Regions from separate parts of the Homo sapiens genome. Here all the other regions are linked to region 4. Evidence: promoter capture Hi-C in human tissues and cell types (Jung and others, 2019). All regions are on one chromosome and are shown on one strand. Each heading gives the region's core, a stretch centred on a gene start or on the middle of the fragment in contact. The rest is flanking DNA. Distances are from core to core; before and after follow the strand shown.

The links. The method cuts DNA at HindIII sites, captures the fragments that hold promoters and counts their contacts. A contact is called where the count stands out against the background at its distance.
Region 1: a fragment that was not itself captured here is called in contact with the fragment with the promoter of ZNF625-ZNF20 in region 4 in 1 of the 25 tissues and cell types used here (stomach).
Region 2: a contact is called between a fragment that was not itself captured here and the fragment with the promoter of ZNF625-ZNF20 in region 4, in 1 of the 25 tissues and cell types used here (H1 embryonic stem cells).
Region 3: a contact is called between a fragment that was not itself captured here and the fragment with the promoter of ZNF625-ZNF20 in region 4, in 3 of the 25 tissues and cell types used here (hippocampus, lymphoblastoid cells and mesenchymal stem cells).

The regions. Positions count from the first base shown.
Region 1 is chr19:11,906,204-11,909,886 of GRCh38, forward strand. It overlaps ZNF69 (zinc finger protein 69), which reads left to right. Exons shown (of 4, transcript NM_001364730.1): 4 at 1-493. Among named protein-coding and RNA genes, the nearest start is that of ZNF700, 17 kb to the right of the region's middle. The HindIII fragment of the contact is 5,350 bases long and covers 1-3,683 here.
Region 2 is chr19:11,980,569-11,984,535 of GRCh38, forward strand. It overlaps ZNF763 (zinc finger protein 763), which reads left to right. Exons shown (of 4, transcript NM_001367172.2): 4 at 1-49. Among named protein-coding and RNA genes, the nearest start is that of ZNF433-AS1, 5.1 kb to the right of the region's middle. The HindIII fragment of the contact is 4,224 bases long and covers 1-3,794 here.
Region 3 is chr19:12,314,863-12,318,782 of GRCh38, forward strand. It overlaps ZNF563 (zinc finger protein 563), which reads right to left. Exons shown (of 4, transcript NM_145276.3): 4 at 2,615-3,920. The coding sequence ends at 3,732. Among named protein-coding and RNA genes, the nearest start is that of ZNF563, 17 kb to the right of the region's middle. The HindIII fragment of the contact is 6,161 bases long and covers 1-3,920 here.
Region 4 is chr19:12,155,347-12,159,286 of GRCh38, forward strand. ZNF625-ZNF20 (ZNF625-ZNF20 readthrough (NMD candidate)) reads right to left here and starts at 1,385. Exons shown (of 8, transcript NR_037802.1): 1 at 1,210-1,385. ZNF625 (zinc finger protein 625) reads right to left here and starts at 1,388. Exons shown (of 4, transcript NM_145233.4): 1 at 1,210-1,388. The coding sequence starts at 1,212. RefSeq lists a silencer at 905-1,074 and enhancers at 1,051-1,742, 1,305-1,414. The HindIII fragment of the contact is 11,402 bases long and covers 1-3,940 here.

The DNA of each region.
Region 1 (3,683 bases), core at 836-3,335, 250 kb before region 4:
GAACCTTCGAATTCAGTAAAGGACACAAGCACACATAAGAATGCATTCTGGATAGCTGAACAAAAGGCAGCAGAAACTTCTGCAGACTTAAATGTCCCTGTCTGACAGCTTTGAAGAGAGTAGCAGTCCTCCCAGCATGGAGTTTGAGATCTAAGAATGGACAGTCTGCCTCCTCAAGTGGGTCCCTGATCTCCAAGTAGCCTAACTGGGAGGCACTTCCCAGTAGGGGCCAACTGACACCTCATACGGCCGTGTGCCCCTCTGTGACGAAGCTTCCAGAGGAAGGATCAGGCAACAACATTTGCCGTTCTGCAATATTTGCTGTTCTGCAGCCCCTGCTGGTGATACCCAGGCAAACAGGGTCTGGAGTGGACCTCAAGCAAAATCCAACAGACCTCAGCTGAGGGTCCTGACTGTTAGAAGGAAAACTAACAAACAGAAAGGACAACCACACCAAAACCCATCTGTACATCACCATCATCAAAGACCAAAAGTAGATAAAACCACAAAGATGGGGAGAAACCAGAGCAGAAAAGCTGAAAATTCTAAACATCAGAGCGCCTCTTCTCCTCCAAAGGAACGCAGCTCCTCGCCAGCAATGGAACAAAGCTGGACTTTGACTTTGACGAGCTGAGAGAAGAAGGCTTCAGATGATCGGTAATAACAAACTTCTCCAAGCTAAAGGAGGATGTTCGAACCCATCACAAAGAAGCTAAAAACCTTGAAAAAAGATTAGACAAAATGGCTAACTAGAATAAACAGTGTAGAGAAGACCTTAAATGACCCGATGGAGCTGAAAACCATGGCACGAGAACTATGTGATGCATGCACAAGCTTCAGTAGCTGATTCAATCAAGTGGAAGAAAAGGTATCAGTAATTGAAGATCAAATGGATGAAATGAAGTGAGAAGAGAAGTTTAGAGAAAAAAGAGTAAAAAGAAATGAAAAAGCCTCCAAGAAATATGGGACTATGTGAAAAGACCAAATCTATGTCTGATTGGTGTACCTGAAAGTGACAGGGATGGAACCAAGTTGGGAAACACTCTTCAGGATATTATTCAGGAGAACTTCCCCAACCTAGCAAGGCAGACCAACATTCAAATTCAGGAAATACAGAGAACGCCACAAAGATACTCCTCGAGAGGAGCAACTCCAAGACACATAATTGTCAGATTCACCAAAGTTGAAATGAAGGAAAAAATGTTAAGGGCAGCCAGAGAGAAAGGTCGGGTTACCCACAAAGGGAAGCCCGTCAGACTAACAGCGGATCTCTTGGCAGAAACTCTACAAGCCAGAAAAGAGTGGGGGCCAATATTCAACATTCTTAAAGGAAAGAATTTTCAACCCAGAATTTCATATCCAGCCATACTAAGCTTCATAAGTGAAGGAGAAATAAAATCCTTTACAGATTCAAATGCTGAGAGATTTTGTCACCACCAGGCCTGCTGTAAAAGATCTCCTGAAGGAAGCACTAAACATGGAAAGGAACAACCGGTACCAGCCACTGCAAAAACATGCCAAATTGTAAAGACCATTGAGGCTAGGAAGAAACTGTATCAACTAACGAGCAAAATAACCAGTTAACATCATAATGACTGGATCAAATTCACACATAACAATATTAACCTTCAATGTAAATGGGCTAAATGCTCCAATTAAAAGACACAGACTGGCAAATTGGATAAAGAATCAAGACCCATCAGTGTGCTGTATTCAGGAGACCCATCTCACGTGCAGAGACATACATAGGCTCAAAATAAAGGGATGGAGGAAGATCTACCAAGCAAATGGAAAACAAACAAAAAAAGCAGGGGTTGCAATCCTAGTCTCTGATAAAACAGACTTTAAACCAACAAAGATCAAAAGAGACAAGGCCATTACATAAAGGTAAAGGGATCAATTCAACAAGAAGAGCTAACTATCCTAAATATTTATGCACCCAATACAGGAGCACTGAGATGCATAAAGCAAGTCCTTAGAGACCTACAAAGAGACTTAGACTCCCACACAATAATAATGGGAGACTTTAACATCCCACTGTCAACATTAGACAGATCAATGAGACAGAAAGTTAACAAGGATATACAGGAATTGAACTCAGCTCTGCACCAAGAGGACCTAATAGACATCTACAGAACTCTCCACCCCAAATCAACAGAATATACATTCTTCTCAGCACCACATCACACTTATTCCAAAATTGACCACATAGTTGGAAGTAAAGCACTCCTCAGCAAATGTAGAAGAATAGAAATTATAACAAACTGTCTCTCGGACCACAGAGCAATCAAACTAGAACTCAGGATTAAGAAACTCACTCTAAACCACTCAAATACATGGAAACTGAACAACCTGCTCCTGAATGACTACTGGGTACATAACAAATGAAGGCAGAAATAAAGATGTTCTTTGAAACCAATGAGAACAAAGACACAACATACCAGAATCTCTGGGACACATTTAAAGCAGTTTGTAGAGGGAAATTTATAGCACTAAATGCCCACAGGAGAAAGCAGGAAAGATGTAAAATTGACACCCTAACATCACAATTAAAAGAACTAGAGAGGCAAGAGCAAACACATTCAAAAGCTAGCAGAAGGCAAGAAATAACTAAGATCAGAGCAGAACTGAAGGAGACAGAGACAGAAAAAACCCTTCAAAAAATCAGTGAATCCAGGAGCTGTTTTTTTGAAAAGATCAACAAAATTGATAGACCGCCAGCAAGACTAATAAAGAAGAAAAGAGAGAAGAATCAAATAGATGCAATAAAAAATGATAAAGGGGATATCACCACCGATCCCACAGAAATACAAACTACCATCAGAGAGTACTATAAATACCTCTATGGAAATAAACTAGAAAATCTAGAAGAAATGGATAAATTCCTGGACACATACACCCTCCCAAGACTAAACCAGGAAGAAGTCGAATCCCTGAATAGACCAATAACAGGCTCTGAAATTGAGGCAATAATTAATAGACTACCAACCAAAAAAAGTCAAGGACCAGATGGATTCACAGCTGAATTCTACCAGAGGTACAAAGAGGAGCTAGTACCATTCCTTCTTAAACTATTCCAATCAATAGAAAAAGAGGGAATCCTCCCTAACTCATTTTATGAGGCCAGCAACATCCTGATACCAAAGCCTGGCAGAGACACAACAAAAAGAATTTTAGACCAATATACCTGATGAACATCGATGCAAAAATCCTCAATAAAATACTGGCAAACCAAATCCAGCAGCACATCAAAAAGCTTATCCACCACGATCAAGTTGGCTTCATCCCTGGGATGCAAGGCTGATTCAACATATGCAAAGCAATAAACGTAATCCATCATATAAACAGAACCAAAGACAAAAACCACAAGATTATCTGAATAGATGCAGAAAAGGCCTTCGACAAAATTCCACAGCCCTTTATGCTAAAAACTCTCAATAAACTGGGTATTGATGGGATGTATCTCAAAATAATAAGAGCTATTTATGACAAACCTACAGTCAATATCATATACTGAATGGGCAAAAACTGGAAGCATTCCCTTTGAAAACTGGCACAAGACAGGGATGCCCTCTCTCACCACTCCTATTCAACATAGTGTTGGAAGTTCTGGCCAGGGCAATCAGGAAGGACAAAGAACTAAAGGGTATTCAAGTAGGAAAAGAGGAAGTCAAATTGTCCCT
Region 2 (3,967 bases), core at 433-2,932, 170 kb before region 4:
TTGGTTTAGTGAGTCACAGGAAGCTAATAAATTACAATAATAATGTAAATTGTCTAAATACAGCCTTTTCTTTCTCTGATAATGTGCTGTTGATACTAACTTGTCAACAGCCTGTTTATTTCAGCCATGTAAAGTTAATGGCAACATGGAAAAGTCACTTTTATATGTTATGCAATGGCATGGAAAAATTCATTTTCATTAAGGTTCCAATGAAGCTGCTCTTCAGAAACGCTTATTTAAAACTCCCTAAGGTCAAAGTCCAGGCATCACGGGATGCAGCATCAATCACTGACCAAACCCTGTCTGTGTGTGGAGATGACATACCCAGTCCCAGATAATGTATCCACATCAGTGAAGGGTGGAATCATTGATTGTCAGATCACACAGCATGATTCACAGCAGGGAAGACAGGGCAGTGACAGAGGTGGGGGCACCTGAGCAGGTACGGTGGCTCACACCTGTAATCTTAGCACTTTGGGAGGCCAAGGAGAGTGGATCACTTGAGGTCAGGAGTTCAAGACCAGCCTGGCCAACATGGTGAAACCTTAAGAAATAGATAAATTAGCTGGGCATCGTGGTGTAATCCCTGTAATCCCAGATACTCAGGAGGCTGAGGCAGGAGAATCGCTTGAGCCTGGGAGGTGGTTGTTACACTGAACTGAGATCACACCATTGCACTCTCCAACCTAGTCGACAGAGCAAGACTCTGTCTCAAAATGAAAAAAACAAGAGTTGGGTGCACCTGAATCCAACCCCTGCCTTATCCTCCCTTGAAGGCCAAATACACCCTGACACTTTTAACCAAACAGTAGAAACAACACCATCCACTTGACCCCAAATGTGACTTTCCACAGGATGCAAGCACAATGTTGGAATGGCCAATGACAGTGACAATGAAAGTGCAGGGTGAGGGTGATGAACAGGACACACTGGAGAGCCTGACATTGGCCTAGACTATGGAGGTGTCTTGATGTTTCACAAAAAGCCCAAGGACCAACCCAAAGAGACACTGGAGCACAGGCCCAAAGGGTGTTCATATGCCAGGAAGGCTACTAATTTTAGAAGGCAGTGATGGTGCCTGTTTGAGTCCGGATGCTTTATAACTTCTGCTTTTCTGCATCTGCTTAGACAAAGAAATCTGCAGTTTTTGAGTTTCAGTGTTTAGAAGTAAGTTATTTTAGCAATCTACACACTTGTGGTTTATTCTGAGCTAACTTCAGACACACAGCTACAGATAGGGAATATCACGAGTATTTCCAAGGCTAAAAGTCTTCATGAAGTCAGTGGGACCCTCTCATGGGAGGGTTTTAAGACCCACAATCAAAAAGGTGGGGAAACATTAGAGTGGAAAGAGGGCAGCAGGTCAGGGGCCTTCCCCAGAGGTCTAACACACCCAACATTATTACCCTGGATGAAAACCAATACATATCATAACACCACACACACTCTTCAATGTTTCACAGACAAAATGAAATGTATTCAAAGCTAAGCTTCCAGAATTCCACTTTACACAATAAGGTTTTAATATCACTCTGTGTTGATGTTAGGCAATTACTAAATAGCATTTTCTGGTTATCTATGGAAAATACCTTGATTTCTGGGATATGAAAATGCTCATTTTTAGATATGCTTGTTTTTGAACTTTTTTTAATAAAATAAGGTGAGAAAACAGGAAAAAAATTTTCAGATCAAGGAACTTAGGCGAATTAATAGGAGAAAAGTCATACAAATTTATTTAACATGTATATATGGGAGCCTTCAGAATGAGGACCCACCCAACAATAAGACAAAAAAGCTTACATACCATTCTGAGGCCAGGAAAAATGCAGACTTGGCATGGCCAAAAAAATTCCAGGTTTGGTGGGGAAGTCATTTTTAATGGCAAGACAGATTATGCTAAAGGAAAGGAAGAAGCTTGGCTAGCAAAGGAGACCTTGTTATGTAGATGAAGGCTCCCTCAGAGAGAATAGGTGGGAAATGCTGCTTTTCAGACTTTTATTTAGAATTTTAAGTAATAGAGTCAGGATTATGCTGTGTTGCCCAGGCTGTTCTCTAATTCTTTGTCTCAAGCAGTCCTCACAGCTCAGTCTCCCAAAGTGCTAGGATTCCAGGCATGAGTCACCATGTCCAGACAGGGTTTGTCCCCTTGTAAAGAATTATTCATTGCTGGGCACAGTGATTCACAGTGACGTCTGCCTGGCATCTGCCTGTAAAGGAAGCATGGCACCAGCATCTGCTCAGCTTCTGGTGAAGGCCTCAGGAAGCTTTCAATCATAGCGGAAGGTGAACGGGGAGCAGGCAGTCACATGGCGAAAGCAGGAGTGAGACAGAGAGAGTGGTGTAGGAAGGTGCAGCTCACTAGAACTCACTGATTATCACAAAGACAGCAACAAGCCATGAGAGAAACAAGCCATAGGTCCCCCTGACCCAAACAACTCCCATCAGGACTCACCTCCAACACTGGGGATTGCAGTTCCTCATGACATTGGGTGGGAACATACATTCAAACTATCACGTGACAATATTACTTCCCTCAGTTTATTAAAGAACAAGTGTTTCTAGCTCTTCAGTGCTGTTCAGTGATTTGGAATATGGACAGGGAAAACTTTGATAAATCAGGAATGGCTGCAGTGAGCCATGAACATAGAATCTAATAATTTTTAAACTAATTTTATAATAGCTGGGCATGGTGGCTCATGCCTGTGGTTCTAGCACTTTGAGAGGCCAAGGTGGGTGGATGACTTGAACCCAGGAGTCTGAGAACAGCCTGGGCAACATGGTGAAACCCTATCTCTACAAACTTTTTAGCCAGGATGGTGACATGCACCTGTAATCCCAGCTACTTGAGAGGCTGCAGTAGGAGAATCACCTGAACCCAAGAGGTTGAGGCTGCAGTGAGCTGTGATCATGCCATTGCACTCCAGCCTGGGTGATAGAGTGAGACCCTCATCTCCAAAAAAAACCCCATAATTTTATAATCAGGACTATTTTTTATGGATCTGTATTTTAAGAAAAAAATGGAAAGACCAGATCATTGAAGATCAGTACAAAAATCTCAGGAATAATCTAAGGTAAGTTTCCCTCACAAGATAAAGCATTCTCTCTCTAGAAAATCTTATACTGCCTGAAAATGTTTTGGTTTTTTTGGAGACAAGAGTTTCACTCTTGTTGCCCAGACTGGAGTGCAATGGCTCAATCGCGGCTCATCGCAACCTCCGCCTCCCAGGTTCAAGTGATTCTCCTGCCTCAGCCTCCCAAGTAGCTGGGATTACAGGCGCCCACCACCACGTCTGGCTAATTTTGAATTTTTAGTAGAGATGGGGTTACTCCATGTTGGTCGGGCTGGTCTCGAACTCCTGTCCTCAGGTGATCCGCCTGGCTTGGCCTCCCAAAGTGCTGCAATTACAGGCGTGAGCCATTGTGCCCGGCTGAAAATGTTTAAAATATGCAAATAAAAGAAATAAGACCAGCATCACATTTATTTACTCTTAGAAAATTTTCTCTAAAAACATAATATTTAAATGTGACATAGGCTAGGCACAGTGGCTCACACCTCTACTCCCAGCCCTTTGGGAGACCAAAGCCAGATGATTGCTTGAGGCTAGGAGTGAGACCAGCCAAGGCAACATGGTGATACATCACCTCATTAACAAAAAATGTTAGCTGCGCATGGTGGCACTTGCCTGTAGTTCCTGCTATTTGGGAGGCTGAGGCAGGAGGATGGCTTGAGCCCAGGAATTCCAAGCTACCATGAACCATGCTCAATTAGACCCCTGCCTTATCACAAGGACAGAGGGCTTTCTGTATCCTAAGGTTCTTGCCTTGGTATACTGGAAGAATTGTATCACACGTGGGCTTGGAGAATGAGTGCAAGTTTTTTCTTTTTTTTTCTGAGAAAGGGTCTCACTCTTGTCGCCTAGGCTGGAGTGCAGTGGCCTGATCTCGGCTCACTGCAACCTCCACCTCC
Region 3 (3,920 bases), core at 41-2,540, 160 kb after region 4:
GGCCCTCCTCATAACTGACAACGCTCCTGGCATCTCTCTTCTCTCTGTTATGCCGATAAAAATGGGGAAGTGATGTTCCTGCCTCCTAAAACTACATCACTGCTACAACTACTTGATCAAAGCATCATCAAGTGCCTCAAGGTGTCTTACACCCACTGGACTTTTGGAAGGATTTATGCTGTCTTGATAATAACCCTCACCATGTCATACAGGATTTATGGAAGAGCTTCCCAACTGCAGAAACGATTGTGTTTATTGCGGAGGCTGTAAATGCCCTACAGCTCAAGACAGCCAAAGTGTGTTGGAAGCCATTATGGAGTGAGGAAGTCAATGATTTCAGGCGCTTCTGCACTATCGATATGATAGTCAGAAATATCTTAAATGTAAGGAAAGTTGGTGGGGAAGGCTATCTCTGACACAAGTGAAGACAATGTTGAGGAACACACAGAAGAGCAAAGAAGAAACCTTTACTAACAAGGAACTAGAAGATATGCTGAAATCCTCTATAGATGATGATGATGATGATGTAGATTTAGAAGAGGCAGTGCCGCCAGGCGTGGTGGCTCACGCCTGTAATCCCAACAGTTTGGGAGGCCGAAGCGGGTGAATCACCTGAGGTCACGAGTTTAAGACCAGCCTGGCCAACATGGTGAAACCCCGTCTCTACTAAAAATACAAAAATTAGCTGGGTGTGGTGGCGGGCACCTGTAATCCCAGCTACTTGGGAGGCTGAGGCATGAGAATCGCTTGAACCCAGGAGGCAGTGTTTGCAGTGAGCCGAGATCGTGCCACTGCACTCCAGCCTGGGTGACAGAGTGAGACTCAGTCTCAATAAATAAATAAAGAGGCAGTGCCATAAGTGGTGGCTCATGCCTGTAATCCCAGCATTCTGAGAGGCCAAGGCAGGCAGATCACTTGAAGTCACAGGGAGTTCAAAACCAGCTTGGCAAACATGGCGAAACCCTGTCTCTACTAAAAATACAAAAATTAGCTGGGCATGGTGGTGCATGCCTGTATTCCCAGCTACTTGGGTGGCTGAGGCAGGAGGATCACTTGAACTTGGGAGGTGGAGGTTGCAGTGAGCTGAGATTGTAATCCCAGCTCCTCAGGTGGCTGATGCAGGAGGATCACTTGAACCTGGGAGGTGGAGGCTGCAGTGAGCTGAGATTGCACCACTGCACTTCAGCCTCAGCGACAGAGTGAGACTCTGTCTGAAAAAAAAAAAAAGAAGCAGTGCTATAGATTTTGATACTTGAAAAATCTGAAGGCTGGGTGTGGTGGCTCACCCTGTAATCCTAGTAATTTGGGAGGCCAAGGCAGGCAGATCTCTTGATTCCAGGAGTTCAAGACCAGCCTGGGAAACATGGTGAAACCTTGTCTCCACAAAAAACACAAAAAGTAGCCAGGCATCGTGATGTGTGCCTATAATCCCAGCTACTTGGGAGGCTGAGGTGGGAAGATCACTTGAGCCCAGGAAGTTGAGGCTGCAGTGAGCCATGCACTGTAGGGTGACAGAGTGAGATCTTGTCTTAAAAAAAAAAAAAAAGAAAAGAAAAAGAAAAAAAAAGAAAAATTGGAAGCAGTTTTAGGGCACCTACAGCTTCTACAAGGCGCAAGTGTTAAAGATTATCATCCTCAATTAAGATTCTTCCATGGAACAAAGCCTCCATGTCACCCCAGAGATTACATGCTCACAAACGTTGCAAAGTTTAAAAAAAAAAAAACTAGCTTCCTACAATGTTTCTAATTAAATATCTGCAAATATGAAGACAGCCTTCAATGCTTAAAGATCTTCAGTCCTCAAATTGAACAGATTCTGACATTAGTATTATTTAGACTGCTCCAAAAATTCAGTATCTGCAGTCAGAATCTGTTTCTTCCAATATAGTTGATCATGTTGACATCCTGTCAAGATTCGAGTTAGCCTGAGGTCTCACTGCTTATCTGTGGTGTCACACATCTAGCTGACTCAACACATCACAACATTAGGCACGATATTGCAATAATCATCATTACACTTTTGTTGGGTGAATGTTAACACATTTTCAGGTCATTAAACAAAAGCAATCTATGAGTGTTGAAAGAAAAGATTTATAATGCTCTAGGTGACATGTATTATGTGGGTGGGTCTGTACTGAATATGTGTAGGGTCTTTCTCATATCATGATTCACTAAACAATATAATAACAACTATTTACATAGCTTCTATGATGCATGATGTATTTTAACTAATCTACAGATGATTTAGAGTATACAGGAGGATGTGGGTAGGTTACATGCAAATATTTTTTATTGTTATTATTTTTTTGAGACAGGGTCTCATTCTGTTGCCCATGCTAGAATGCAGTGATGTGATTTTGACTCACCGCAACCTCAACCTCCCAGGCTCAAGCGATCCTCCCACCTCAGCTTCCCTAGTAGCTGGGACTACAGGTACATGTCACCACACCTGGCTAATTTGTGTATCTTCTGTAGAGACAGGGTTTTGCCACATTACCCAGGCTGGCCTCTAACTCCTGGGCTCAAGTGATCCACCTGTCTTGGGCTCCTAAGGTGCTAGGATTACAGAGGTGAGCAACTGTGTCTAACCCAAATATGTCTTTTCTTTCTTTCCTTTTTTTTTTTTTTTGTGTGTGTGACAGAGGTTGTTTTGCTCTTGCTGCCCAGGCTGGAGTGCAGTGGCGCGATCTTGGCTCACCGCAACCTCCGCCTCCCGGATTCAAGTGATTATCCTGCCTCAGCCTCCTGAGTAGCTGGGATTACAGGCATGTGCCATCACATCCGGGTAATTTTGTACCAAATATGTCATTTTTAAAAAAGGACTTGGCATGTGTCGATTTATGTATGCCCAGGGGGTGGTAGAACCACGCTCCTGCAAATATTAGGGGATAACTGTATTTGAAAGAAACTGAGGCTTAAAATTAAGGCTTTACTATGTGTTTACATTCATAGGGTTTATCTCCAATGAGAATTATTTCTATCTGAAATGAAATAACATTAAAGAATACTTCCCTACATTTCACACATTTATAGAGTATCTCTCCAGTGAGTCCTTTTATGTCTATGCAAGGACCTGAGAGAACTCAATGCTTTTCTACATTTCTTACATTCATATGACTTCTCTCCAGAGTGAATCCTTTCATGTACTTTTTTTTTTTTTTTGAGACAGGGTCTGGCTCTGTCGCCCAGGCTGGGGTGCAGTGCATCTTGGCTCACTGCAACCCCCACCCCTTGGGCTCAAGAGATCTTCCCACCTCAGCCTCCCAAGTAGCTGGGACTACAGGGGCATACCACCACACCTGCTACTTTTTCTATTTTTTGTAGAGACATGGTTTCACCATTTTGCCCAGGCAGGCCTCAAATTCCTGAGGTCAAGCAATTTGCCCACCCTAAGTGCTGGGATTACAGGCGTGAGCCACTGTGCCCAGCCTCATGTACTTTTAAGTTACCAAAATGACTGAAGGCTTCCCTACATATTTTACACTCACAGAGTTTTTCTGCTCTGTGAGTTGTTTTATGTTGACAATGGTGTTAAAAAAAAATCGATCACTTTCCCACATTCCTTATATCATACAGCATCTCTCCAGTGTGAGATATTTCATGATTTTGAAAGGAATAAAAATTATGAAAGGCTTTCCCACATTTACATTTATAGGGTTTCTGTCCAGTGTAAGTTTATTCATGATATCAAAGGGAACTGGAAATATAGAAGGCTTTATAATAGTTTACATTCATATTGTTTCTCTCCAGTGAGTCTTTTCATGTCTTTGACATACACTGGGATAAACAAAGGCTTTCCCACATACCTTGCATTTATTCGGCCCATCTCCCGTATGCATTACCATATGTCTTCGAAAGCTTGAGCTATGAGATAACGCTTTCCCACACTGCTTGCATTCATAGGGTTTCTCTCCACTGTG
Region 4 (3,940 bases), core at 135-2,634:
CATATCTGTTTTTTGGTGGGGATGGAATCACGTGGCAGGTAACAGACTCCCTTCACTTAAACATTCCTTCCTACCCCTTTCAAATTTTAGACACAACTTCACACTCTCAGCCAACTGCCAACTACAGAATCCCTCAACCACCTGTGCCTTCTAAGCCCCGCTTCTACGTGTCCTGCCCTGTCAGCCTTCCATGCCTTGATTGATCTTTTCCCTGCAATTCCTGTCTCGCTGAAATGAATAAAACCAAACTGCCATCGAACCTCCTGGGGACCACTTACTCGAGGCTACATGCGGTTGTTTCCCTTGGTCACGTTCTCTCATATTCGGCGTAGAACATAGTTCAAGTTATTTTGCAGAGTTTTGCTCTTTCCGTTATCAAACTGCAAGCCATGACTGGGTGTTTCTCATTCAGGAAACATTTCTCATTCATTTTTTTCAAACTCCTATTCTGAGAAGCAAAACTCTTTAATTTTTAAGAGGACTCAGTTTAGTTTGTTGCTGTTGTTTTTGTTTTGTTTTGTTTGAGACAGGGTCTCGCTCAGTCGCCCAGGCTGGAGTGCAGTGGCGCGATCTCGGCTCACTGCAGTCCCAATCTCCTCCCTCAAGCGATCCTCCCACCTCAGCCCCCCAGTAGCTGGGATTACAGGTGGGCGGCACCACGCCCGGCTCATTTTTTAAAAATTTATTTTTAATAGAAACTAGGGTCTCGGTATGTTGCCTAGGCTGGTCTCGAATTTCTGGGCTGAAGCAATCCCCCCGCCTCAACCTGCCAGGCGTGACCCACTGCGCCTGGCCTTCAATTTAGTTTTTCAGGAAAAAAGGGGGGACTGGGGACCCCGCAGCCCACCGCTCCTCCCACACGAACCACACACCCGAGGCAGGATTGCCTCCATGACCCTCCCGTGGTCTCCGCACAATCTGGGGAGACGCGGGACTACGGGCGCGGAGCTCCCCAGAGAGGGCTCCGGGGCCGGGGCCAGGGCCGGGGTCGCAGTCGCAGCGCAGAGACGGGACAGGACGCCTGGGGTCCCGGCTGCCGGCCCAACCCCACCCTGCGGCCGAAGGGACCGAGGGCCGAGCTACGCCAGGGGGACTCCGCTCTGCAGACCCGAAGTCGCTGCAGGAAGGCCTGGGTCCTGCTAGAGCCGGTTCGAGCCGGTTCCTCCCGGCCCCTCCCCCGTCTCGGGACCCCCGGCCCCGCACACTCACCATTTCCCGGCTTCCAGGTGTCCTGGCCTCCTCTCCACGGATCCCTCTAACAGTCCAGTCACAGTGCGGGCGATGGAGCGACAGAAGCTATGGCGGAGGCACCTGGTCCCTCTCGGGGCCGGAAAACCGAGATCCCGACCTCCCTTTGGTGCAAGACGCCTGGGAGTCAGGAAAGCGGGAATGCGGCCTCCCCTTCCCCGGATGGACAGTTGGCAGGACCCCGCCCCAGCGCCCCTGATTGGATGAGGCTCCAGTCCCCGTCCCATCGGTCCTGAGTGACAGCGGAAGCCCTGGGTAACAAGGCCCGGCAGAACCGAAATGACCTGTTCCAACCACAGATTATCTAAGCGAGCTCCCTCCCTGCGTCTTGCTCTTTGGGTATTTGCATTTCAGCCAAATTTGCTCCGAATTGCTAGAGGGGGTACCGTTGTCTTCCTCACTCAATGGGCTGTCCCTGCTCCTTTGTCTTGCACAGGAAATTCCAGACTCAGAGTCCAGTGGAGGTGAAGGAAATTAAAATATTTTACGCCAAAATATATTTATTTGACAGATTTTGAAATGGCTGTGGCTCGGCCGCAAAAAAAAGTGGACTGGCAAAGCTGTCTTTGGAGGGGGGGAATTTGCATCTGCAGAGAATCTCCATTGATGAAACCATGCCCTCTCCCCCTTTATTTCTTTCCCTTTATCCAAGCTAGAAGAGATTGTGACCTGAACACAGGCAGGGTGCGGTGGTTCACGCCTGTAATCCTAGCACTTTGGGAGGCCAAGACTGGAGGATCCCTTAAAGTAAAGAGTTAAAGACCAACTTGGTCAACACAAGAATACCCCTGTTTTGTTGTTTTTTTTTTTTAATTTTTATTTATTAAACTTTAAGTTCTAGGGTACATGCGCACAATGTGCAGGTTTGTTACATATGTATACATGCGCCATGTTGGTGTGCTGTACCCATTAACTCGTCATTTACATTAGGTATATCTCCTAATGTTATCCCTCCCACATCCCCCCACCCTAGACCCCTGTTTTTATTATTTAAAAATCTTTACGGCCGGGAGCGGTGGCTCACGCCTATAATCCCAGCACTTTGGGAGGCCGACGCGGGCGGATCACGAGGTCAGGAAATCAAGACCATCCTGGCTAACACGGAGAAGCCCCGTCTCTACTAAAAATACAAAAAATTAGTCGGGTGCGGTGGCGGGCGCCTATAGTCCCAGCTACTCGGGAGGCTGAGGCAGGAGAATGGCGTGAACCCGGGAGGCGGAGCTTGCAGTGAGCCGAGATTGCGCCACTGCACTCCAGCCTGGGCGACAGGGCTAGACTGTCTCAAAAAAAAAAAAGAAAGAAAAAGAAAAAGAAAATCTGTGAAGGTCAGAATTAGAGCAAGACCCATTTGGGATGCCTCCTGGAGAAAGGGTTTATGAATTTTTATTTATTATTTTATTTTATTGTATTTATTATCATTTTTTTTGAGACGGAGTCTCGCTCTGTCGTCCGGGCTGGAGTGCAGTGGCGCAATCTCGGCTCACTGCAAGCTCCGCCTCCCGCCCGGGTTCATGCCATTCTCCTGCCTCAACCTCCCAAGTAGCTGGGACTACAGGCGCCTGCCACCACGCCCGGCTAATTTTTTGTATTTTTAGTAGAGACGGGGTTTCACCGTGTTAGCCAGGATTGTCTCGATCTCCTGACCTCGTGATCCGTCCGCCTCGGCTTCCCAAAGTGCTGGGATTACAGGCGTGAGCCACCGCGCCCTGCGGGTTTATGAATTTAACAGTAAATTTAGCTTAAACTGACTCAAGTCGAGAGCTTCCTGTTGGTGAAAATGAAGGTCTTAAAGGAGAGAATAATTTCTAAACTGAGGAGGGGACAGAAGGGCATTTCAAACTCCCAGATAAATCCTTAATTTTCTCTGCCTCATCATCTGGGACTGACCCGCCCTGGGGGGCTCCATTTCAGCAGTCACAGTTTGGCTTCCAAGCTTGGAAATATCATTTACCTTCTGACAGAGGGTTTTCCTTGTGAACTGTGCATGAAGCAGGCTGCTTATCTGAACTACTTCAAATGTTTGCTTTACTTTTCTTTTGATTCCTTTATAAAATATTGCTGCCGGCTGGGCGCGGTGGCTCACGCCTGTAATCCCAGCACTTTGGGAGGCCGAGGCGGGCGGATCACGAAGTCAGGAGTTCGAGACCAGCCTGACCAACATGGTGAAACCCCGTCTCTACTAAAAATACAAAAATTAGCCGGGCGTGGTGGCACACGCCTGTAATCCCAGCTACTCAGGAGGCCGAGGCAGGAGAATCGCTTGAACCCGGGAGATGGAGGTTGCAGTGAACTGAGATTGTGCCACTGAACTCCAGCTGGGCGACAGAGCGAGACTCCGTTTCAAAAAAAAAAAAACATATATATATATATATATATATATATATATATATATATATACACACACACACTTATATATGTGTTTGTATATATACACATATATGTGTATATATACAAACACATATATAAGTATATATATACACATATATGTATATATATGTGTATATATATAGCTGCCATATAATTCCAGCTTTTCCATGCACTTAGTTTTATTCTGTTGTTGGCTTGTTGTTTTCTTGAGTGAAAATGAGTAGACTGAGAGATAAAGTATGAAAAATCTTTGGCTATCCCTCATCCCAAATTTATAATCTCTGACGACATCAGGCCTCTCTCCTCTTCCAGTGTTGGCCTGACT